3 separate regions of the Homo sapiens genome follow, and regions 1 and 3 are each linked to region 2. The links are contacts of gene promoters, found by promoter capture Hi-C in blood cells and fetal thymus (Javierre and others, 2016). All regions are on one chromosome and are shown on one strand. The core of a region is centred on a gene start or on the middle of the fragment in contact, and the rest is flanking DNA. Distances in the headings are between cores, read along the strand shown.

Region 1 (3,099 bases), core at 378-2,877, 1.3 Mb before region 2:
CAAGTAGCTGGGATTACAGGCATGCGCCACCACGCCCAGTTAATTTTTGTATTTTTAGTAGAGATGGGATTTCACCATGTTGGCCAGGCTGGTCTCGAACTCCTGACCTCAGGTGATCCACCCACCTCAGCCTCCCAAAGTGCTGGGATTACAGGCGTGAGACACTGCACGTGGCCGAAGCTGAATGATGTATTCAGGGACACATAGACTAGACAGTAAGAGTTGCACCTAGAACCTAAAGGCAGTCCTGGTTCCAGATCTAAGCCCTTTCTGCTGTACCATTTTCTTCACCTTGGAGAAATAGGGTGGGAAAGTATACACACACACACACACACACACACACACACACATCTTTCTTTCTTTCTTTGCCAGTTGAAGATACATTATTTTGAGTCTCCTTTAAAAATTTTTGATCAGTGCTGTCCCATAGAAATATTATATATGCTATATACACAATTTTAAATTTTATAATAATGCTTTTTTAAAAAGCACAAAGAAATAGATAAGGTTGATTTAATCATTCCACAAGGGGAGGGAGAGAGAGAGAGTGTGTGTGTGTGTGTGTGTGGGTGTATCTCAAAACATCACATTGTGCTCCATACATATGTAAAATTATGTATCAATTTTTAAGAAATTGACAAACAGTAATTTTACGTATTTATAGTGTACAGTAATATTTGCCCACATGGATAGAATGTGTAATGATAAAATCAGAGTATTTAGGATATCCAGCACCTGAAACATACATCATTTCTTTGTGTTGGGAACATTTCAAATCTACTTAACATTTCAAATTAAAATATACAAGAAATTGGCCTGACGTGGTGGCTCATGCCTGTAACCCTAGCACTTTGGGAGGCCAAAGTGGGTAGATCACTTGAGGTCAGGAGTTTGAAATCAGCCTGGCCAACATGATGAAACCCCTTCTCCACTAAAAATACAAAAAAAACTAGCCGGCTGTGGTGGCCTGTGCCTGTAATCCCAGGTATGAGGGAGGCTGAGGCACGAGAATTGCTTGAACCTGGAGGCAAAGGATGCAGTGAGCAGAGATCGCACCACTGCACTCCAGCCTGGGCCACAAAATGAGACTGTCTCAAAAAAAAAATAATATATATATATGTACAAGAAATTGGTAACTATAGTCATCCTACTTTGCTATTGAATACTGGAACTCATTCGTTCCATTTAAGTTTTTTTTTTCTATCCATTAACCAAGCTCTCAACGTCCACCCTTCCCAGCTGCTGGTATCTATTATATTCTACTGTCTATGAGATCATTTTTAGCTCCTATATATTGACTTTGATTTGAAAGTCAATTTAAATTTTTTTAAAAAAATTGTATAAAGTAGAAACAGGTGAAAATAATTTTAACAATATATTTTATTTAACCTAGTTTATCCAGAATATTACTTTGAAACATAATCAATATAAAAATTATTAATGGGATATTTTACATGCATTTTTTTCATGCTAAGTCATTGAACTCCAGTGTGCATTTTACATTCACAACACATTTTAAGTGCTCCAAGGTCACACGTGGTTAGTGGCTGCTCTGTTGGACTGCAGAGAATCACTGTCAGTGGAACATAAAGATGAAGGAATGTTTTATTTTGCTTAGTAATGTTCAGGTCTGAGGTTAGAGTTTGTGGTTGTGGTCATTGGTTTTTTCTTTCATGTTTTAGTGATTTTCTTTGCACAATTAGAAGTATTTTGAATTTGCAGAGAGATGAACAAAAAAGTCTGCTGTCACGAATTTGTGCGCTTGTGATGAAAAGGTTTCATTTTTTAAGACAGGGTCTTGCTCTGTTGCTCAGGCTGGAGTGCAGTGGCACTGTCATGGCTCACTGCAGCCTCAGCCGACTGGACTCAGGTGATCCTCCCACCTAAGCCTCCCAAATAGCTGGGATTACAGGAATGCACCACCACGCCCAGCTAATTTGTGTATTTTTAGTAGAAATGGGGTCTCTCCTTGTTGTCCAGGCTGTTGTTGAACTCCTGTCCTCAAGTGATCCGCCCACCTCGGCCTCCCAGAATGCTGAAATTACAGGTGTGAGCCACTGCGCCTGGCCAGTGATGTGTGTAAATTTAAAAGACTGTATTGGTGAAGATGTGGAACAAGTGAGACTTCCCTACGCTGCTAGTGGGAATACAAAATGGTACAACCCATTTTGGAATTTGTCATTCCACTCCTAGGTATTTACCCAAGAGAAATGAAGTATATGTCCATACAAAGACTTGTAGATAGCAGTTTTATTTGTAATAGCCTCAAACTGGAACAACCTTAGTGTCCATCAGTAGGGGAATGGATGAAGAAACGGGTATATCCATATACTGGAATACAGCTCAGCAATCAAGAGGAATAAACTGTTGACACATGCAGCAACATGGATGGTTCTCAGTATAATTATGCTGAGTGAAGTAAATTGGATAAAAAGATTTTTTGAACAAGAAAAAGGCCAGGAAGTTGCTTCTAATTACATATGCAGTACTCAGATTTCAAGAACTGGTATTGAAATTGAGCCATCAGAGCAGTGTTCAGGTCGAATAATGAATTGTCTTGGGTCTTAAAGCTCCAGCAAATCAAATTGTCATCATCAAAATAGCCTCTTTTTTTTGGTTTTGTTTTCTGTTTTTTGTTTTGCCAGCTTCAAGAGATGGTTCCGTTGCTTTGGGGTGAACTTGGTACCAGTGCCGTGTTACTTATCCAGTTCTAACTCAAGAAAGTTCTGGAGGGCATAATGATCTTAGATAAGACCAAGGCCCCGAACCTGACCATGTTCTGTCTTCTCTGTGAGTTGAATCATCCTTTGGCCAGTTGGATCCTGGCTTTGTCTTGGGTAATTTATTTTATCCAGGATTGATGCCAGCTATGTGTGTTCTGGGTTTTTAGCACTTCAGGTTCATGTCAACTGAGTCGCTCTGAGAGCTGCCCTGTTTGGAAACATGCAGTTTCCCCACTAAGCAACAGCTTCCTATTCAAGCAAATTTCTTACACTCTACCAGTCCCGATACACTCGACGTTAAATTCAGCGTAGCACACATTTCCTCATGCCTGTGTGTGCGTGTTTGTTTACATTACAGTTGGGGCATTTGGTGGGC
Region 2 (3,215 bases), core at 647-3,146:
AGCCCGCCACCACGCCCGGCTAATTTTTGTATTTTTAGTAGAGACGGGGTTTCACCATGTTGGCCAGGATCTCTTGACATCGTGATCCGCTCGCCTCGGCCTCCCAAAGTGCTGGGATTACAGGCGCGAGACACCGCGCCTGGCCACGTATGTGTAATTTCTAAAGGTTTCTCTGCCCTTGGTGTAGGGAAGAATGTTTGAAAAAAAGACCATTGAGAATACTTCAGGTAAGTTTTTTTTTTTTTACACTTACAAAATGCTAAATGATCAGGGGTCAACTATCAAGTGGTACTCTGTAAGGCAACCTTAAAAACTCACTGCTGACCCAGGCTCGGTGGCTCACACTTTTGATCCCAGCACTTTTGGGAGGCTAAGGCGGGCGGATCACTTGAGCCCAGGAATTTGAGACCAGCCTGGGCAACATAGCGAGACCCCCTCTCTACAAAAAATAAGAAAATTAGCTGAGCATCGTGGCCTGCACCTGTGGTTCCAGCTACTTGGGAGGCTGAGGTAGGAGGATCACTTGAGCCCAGGAGGCAGAGGTTGCAGTGAACCAAGATTGCGCCACTGCACTCCAGAACGAGACCCTTTCTCAAAAACCACCATCAACAACAACAAAAAACCCCACTCAATGCTGTCTTGGCAGTTTTCAGTGCTCAATGAGAAAACCTACTCTTAATGGAAAAAAAGTGGGGGAAAGGGGTTCCAGGAACTACAAAGCAAAGTGTGTCTTGGGAAGTTAGCTTTGTTGCACTCCAAATAAAAATTTGGCATTGGGTGGTAGTTATGCATACTCTACGCATCGACAATTCTCTAAGGACTCCAAAGTGCATGTCCTGGAAATTCCAACATATTTGCACTACGTTCCAGGTACACTAGAATGTTTATAGCCATGTTCTGAGTGGCCTCAGTCTGAACAAAATGCCCAACCAGAGTAGAATGGATTCACTGTTCTATTCACACTGGAATACTAGGCAACAATTAAAATTACCTATACATACACAGTACACCAATTTAATACTGATTGAAAACCACAAAACAACACACTGTGATCCACCCGCAAAAGTTCAAAAACAGGCAAAGGAAAACGACATCGCATGCACACATAGATGGTAAAGCTGTAAGGAAATGATCACACTAGTCAGGCTAGGAGACAATCAGGCTCCGAAAGGAGCACAGGGCATGGGTGAGAAACTCCTGGGGTGCCGGTAATGCCCTTTTCGTTTTTATCTGGGTGTTTTATTAATTCTTCTTTAAACGTGTATGTCGTATGCACTTTTCTGCGTATGCTATATCTGTTAAAAATTTATCGGCAGCCCAGCAGACAGATTCGTGCCTCTAAAGAGGTGGAAGCTCCAGAACGATCCGCCTCGCCATTAAGCGAAGGCAACTCCGAACGCTGAGAAACGCAGGCCCGGGGTCGGCCGGTGTCCTTACGGATTGGCGAGCGGGCGCACACCCCTCCTGCATTAAGGAGAGTTCTCAGGGTCACGCTCCGAGCGACCCTAGAGGGAGCGGCGGTGTCCTCGCCGCCGCCAAACCCACCTAGAGCCGCTCTCCGCGTCGGCCCCTCCACCGTCGCCGGCGACTCCGGACAGCCGCGGGGCGATTCTGGGGCTTCCAGACGAGGGAGGGGCCCGGGGGGAAGGAGGCGGCGACTCCCGCCGCCCCGCAGAGCCTCGGCGGCCAGAGCTACCCCAAGAAGGCCAGACCCCGCCGTCCGCGGCTCCGCGGGCCCCGATAGGGTGGGCGTGGCCGCCGCGCGCCGGACGTACCTCTCCACCGCGAAGGAACTACCTCGCCAGTTCCCGGCGACAGAGGACAGATTATTTCCAGGACCGCTCCCGCCACCCCTCCCGGGCAACCCACTAGACGTCCCCTTTCTAATTTGGAGTGCGGGTGCGGGCGCACGCGCACTGCCGAGCTTCCGCGAGGGCGCGACCGGACGGCGGAGGAGGACCCGTCGCCGCAGCCTCCAGGGCGGAGCGCGTGCTCGCCTCGACACGCAGCGAACTGGTGGCGGGGGCGCGCCCGGCGGCAGCGGCGGCGGCGGCGGCGGCGGCGGCGGCGCGGCGGCGCGGGTCGGCCGGGGCGCGAGCGTGCGCAGTGGCTCCTCGGCCTCGGCTCCAGCCAGGGCGGCGGCGCTGGGGAGGAGCGGTGTGGGCGGCCGGGGGCGGGGACGCGGGGCGGCGGGCGTGTCCGAAGTCGCGCGCGGCTGGCGCGCGGTCCCGAGTGAAAGGAGAAGGAGGGGCGCTGGGGGTGACGGTGCGGAGCCGCTGCCAGCGCTGGGCGAGAGTCGGCGGCCGGATCCGAGGAGCAGGCGGGCCTGAGGCCGAGTCAGCTGCGCGGGCCCCCGGATCCCCCGACAGAGCGGCGGCGGTGTCTGGCCAGGCGGTAGGCGCTGCCTGGCCGCGGCGGGGAAGATGTTCAGCGTAGAGTCGCTGGAGCGGGCGGAGCTGTGCGAGAGCCTCCTCACTTGGGTACGTGGGGGCCGCGGGCCGGCGGGAAGACCCCCTCCCCCCGCCACCTACCGGGACCCTCCACGCGCGGCCCGTGGGGCGAGCGCTGCGGGCGACGGTGCCGTCACATCCGGGGCCTGGGGCGGGCGGGGCGAGGAGGCTCGGCCCAGGGTCCGAGAGAGACTTGCCGGGCCTGAGGCGTCGCTGTTCCGGGCGGACCCCGGCCGGGGCTGGGCTGGGAACGCGGCGGGCGACTCTGGGATCCGTGCGGCTGCTCGCAGCTGGGGCTGCGCTGCGCTCTGGGGGTGGCCGAGCCTGACTGCCCCGCGTCCAGGACCCGCCGCCGCTCCTCGCCTTTGTTGCCGCGTTCGCGGAGGACGGGCCCGGCTCCGGCCCGGGAACTGAAAGGACCTGTGAGGGAGCGTGGGGAGAATGCGGGAGGCGCCCGGGGACCCCGTTTCGGATGCAAGGCACCGCTGGCGGTGGGAGTGCGCGAGGGGCGGACGCCTGTCAGAGGCGTCGGGCAGACGTTTAAAGGAGTCTGGAGGTGTCTGGGCGTCAACAATGGAACTCGAAGGCCTTGGGGGACAGAGTCGTGGGATTCTGATTTTGAATTCTTAAACGGTTTTAGATTCCTCATACTTTGAAGTAAATACATGTTCACCTCTCACGTCAGCTGCCGCGCCTTCCTGAAGCCGGGTCTTCAGGACGCGGCAGGGGAACCGACGCCCGGGTTCCAGTCGTTCTCGCCGCGGC
Region 3 (3,323 bases), core at 568-3,067, 1.4 Mb before region 2:
AAATGAAATTTTGATACGGGGCACATTCTTGAACAAGGCTACCTTTTACCCTTTACTTTGACTATAATCAGACCTTTTCCCATCACTATAGGAAAAGAGAGAGAGAGAGAGCACGCATTGCCCTAAGGTGCAAGCATTTAGAAATACTGAGTTTGGGCCGGGTGCAGAGGTTCATGTCTGTAACCCCAAACACTTTAGGAGGCTGAGGCAGGAGGATCGCTTGAGGCCAGGACTTCAAGACCAGCCTGGGCAACATAGTGAGACCCCCGTCTCCACAAAAAAAAAAAAAAAAATTAGCCAGGCACGGTGGTACACACCTGTGGTCCCAGCTACTTGGGAGGCCAAGGTGGGAGGATTGCTTGAGCCCAGGAGTTTGAGGCTGCAGTGAGCCATGACTGTCCCACTGCACTCCAGCCAGAGAGAAAGAGAGATTGAATTTGGCCTGGCTTTTATTTAGACCTTAGGACAAGTCCCTCAAGATCTCTCAGCTAAACTATATAGACTTTAATAAATATGAAGCCTTAGGCTGGGCACAGTGGCTCATGCCTGTAATCCCAGCACTTTAGGAGGCTGAGGCAGGTGGATCACAAGGTCAGGAGTTCAAGTCCAGCCTGACCAAGAAACCCCGTCTCTACTAAAAATATACAAGTTAGCGGGGCGCAGTGGCAGGCACCTGTAATCCCAGCTACTCAGGAGGCTGAGGCAGGAGAATCACTTGAACCCGGGCGACAGAGGTTGCAGTGAGCCGAGATCATGCCACTGCAGTCCAACATGGGCAACAGAGTGAGGCTCCATCACAAATAAATAAATAAATAAATAAGACTTGCCCAACACTTGGGCACATAAGCTTCTCATCAAAGATGCCCATGATATAAAGGCACATGAATTTCTTTATGGAAAGGTCACCTTTCTCTTTGCTTGACATATTCAGAAAAGCATTAGGAAAATAATCTTACTCAACCAGCTACATGCTATGTTGGCCACAGTGTTTCATAAGATATATTTAATTTTTAAAAATTTTTTATGATTATTGTATATTCTACAACAAGCAAAGGGGCAGATAGTTCTTATATCTCCTTACAGAGTTTCAGAGGACCTAGGGTCTGAGGAGAGCAAAGGAATTAGGAATATCATAAATTGCCCAGATTTTCCATTTGTAAGGGAGACCCAAGCCTTGCCCGGCTTCCTGAGTTCTCCAGCATCCTGGCCATGCAGCTGGCATTGGGTGTTATCATTGGCCAGAAAAATACGTATAAGTTCACCAGCCAATAGCTTTCCTTATGAGCCTAAGAGAAAACAGCGTAAGCACACTTTTCTGCCTTCCTTAAAGCTCTTTGGGAGCCCAAGGCGGGTGGATCATCATGTCAGGAGATCGAGACCATCCTGGCCAACATGGTGAAACCCTGTCTCTACTAAAAATACAAAAATTAGCCAGGCATGGTGGCACACCCCTGTAGCCCCAGCTACTCGGGAGGCTGAGGCACGAGAATCGCTTGAACCCAGGAGGCGGAGATTGCAGTGAGCCGAGATCATGCCACTGCACTCCAGCCTGGCAACAGAGCAAGACTCCGTCTCAAAAAAAAAAAAAAATGCAAGCTGTCCTCTTACATGGCTGTCTGTAGTGCCAATCTTCATGCATTCAGAAAAACCGGGAGTTAAACTCAACTTAACTAAAACACTCCCAAATCTTAATTCTTTGGTTTCCAGGGCAGTGAGACCAAGATTGTGATGGAATTCAGAAAAAGGGACCCCTGAGAAACAGCTGCTGACCAAACAAGCAAGGGCACTGATATGAGAACAATAATAATGCCATTACTTGTATTCTGAAAGCATCTTTCTCCAGAAAGCTCACAATTCTGTATAGATATACAGTATTTACTGTTGTTTTTCCTTGGTGATTAAAACATTAAATTTGTTCTCATTAATAATGTATCTTTTTGGCCAGGTGCAATGCCTATAATCCTAGCACTTTGGAAGACTGAGGTGGGCGGATCACCTGAGGTCAGGAGTTCAAGACCAGCCTGTCCAACATGGGGAAACCCCATCTCTACTAAAAACACAAAAATTAGCCGGGCATGGAGGCACATGCCTGTAATCTCAGCTACTCTGGAGGCCAAGGCAAGAGAATCGCTTGAACCTGGGAGGCAGAGGTTGCAGTGAACCAAGATCATGCCACTGCACTCCAGCCTGGGCAACAGAGCGAGACTCTGTCTCAAAAAATAAAAATAATGTACCACTGGGCCAGGTGCAGTGGCTCACGCCTGTAATCCCAGCACTTTGGGAGGCCGAGGCGAGCGGATCACAAGGTCAGGAGATCCAGACCATCCTGGCTAACATGGTGAAACCCCGTCTCTACTAAAAATACAAAAAATTATCGGGCGTGGTGGCAGGCGCCTGTAGTCCCAGCTACTCGGGAGGCTGAGGCAGGAGAATGACGTAAACCCAGGAGGCGGAGCTGGCAGTGAACCGAGATCACGCCACTGTACTCTAGCCTGGGCGACAGAGTGAGACTCTGTCTCAAAAAATAGTAATAATAATAATAACGTATGGCTGTCCACAAATATTTTGGCTGTTTCTATTTGCTGTGTCTATAATTTCCATTAACATCTTCACTGAGAATATCTGAATATTGCTGTGGCTTGTCACTTTCTTCAGTTGTATAGGATCCTATTTTCTGTATCTTCCTCTTCCACTTTGGGCAGTAGCTTTTTCCTTCTCTTTCGAGGTAACTTCATGTTTTACTTGTCTGAATTCATGTTAGTATGTTCATCTTGCAATTTAAATCATCTAAGCTTGCCTGCAAATTCTATCCACAAACTTCATCCTCCTAATATAATAATCTATGTAATCACCTTTTATCTGTGATCATTTTAATGAATTGCATTCCATTTATATGGCTATCTTATTATTTCTAAAACACTTCTTGACAGTGGGTGCACATCAACCAGGTGTTCCTGATTTTTCTCTTCATTCTATATAATGTAATTGAAGACCTCTTTTCTCCCACCTTCCTGAACTTTACAGTGCCAAACGATCAACACCAAAAGTTTGTGTGTTGCTTTGGCATTTCTTTTAATAACCCTTCTTTACACAGCAGAAATATTTTTCTGCCAACTCATTTCCTCTAAAAGTGTTTTTGTCTAATGAATATTAGTTGTAATCAAAGATCTTAGAAGTGAAACGGGTCCCTCAATTTTTTGGTCTGTCCCTCTGTCTTCAGGCAGACACATATTAATTTTGTGTAAAAGGTGGTGTGATTAGCCAGGCGCGGTTGGATCACTCCTGTAATCCCAGCAATTTGGGAGGCTGAGACAGGTGGATCA

Evidence for each region. Contacts are between HindIII fragments. The CHiCAGO score rates a contact against its expected background, and 5 or more counts as called.
Region 1: a fragment that was not itself captured here is called in contact with the fragment with the promoter of RNF170 in region 2 in 2 of 17 cell types (total CD4 T cells and total CD8 T cells); the score reaches 5.9 in total CD4 T cells.
Region 3: a fragment that was not itself captured here is called in contact with the fragment with the promoter of RNF170 in region 2 in 3 of 17 cell types (total CD4 T cells, total B cells and activated CD4 T cells); the score reaches 5.6 in total CD4 T cells.

The regions. Positions count from the first base shown.
Region 1 is chr8:41,582,128-41,585,226 of GRCh38, forward strand. All of the region lies in intron 1 of GPAT4 (glycerol-3-phosphate acyltransferase 4), which reads left to right. Among named protein-coding and RNA genes, the nearest start is that of GPAT4-AS1, 5.3 kb to the left of the region's middle. The HindIII fragment of the contact is 3,575 bases long and covers 1-3,099 here.
Region 2 is chr8:42,894,709-42,897,923 of GRCh38, forward strand. RNF170 (ring finger protein 170) reads right to left here and starts at 1,897. Exons shown (of 7, transcript NM_030954.4): 1 at 1,776-1,897. It overlaps HOOK3 (hook microtubule tethering protein 3), which reads left to right and starts at 2,270. Exons shown (of 22, transcript NM_032410.4): 1 at 2,270-2,480. The coding sequence starts at 2,424. It overlaps MIR4469 (microRNA 4469), which reads right to left and starts at 1,567; the gene lies at 1,489-1,567. RefSeq lists an enhancer at 1,014-1,575 and silencers at 1,482-1,693, 1,489-1,848, 2,029-2,818, 2,829-2,888. The HindIII fragment of the contact is 5,948 bases long and covers 1-3,215 here.
Region 3 is chr8:41,522,401-41,525,723 of GRCh38, forward strand. No RefSeq gene overlaps it. Among named protein-coding and RNA genes, the nearest start is that of GINS4, 5.2 kb to the right of the region's middle. The HindIII fragment of the contact is 1,945 bases long and covers 846-2,790 here.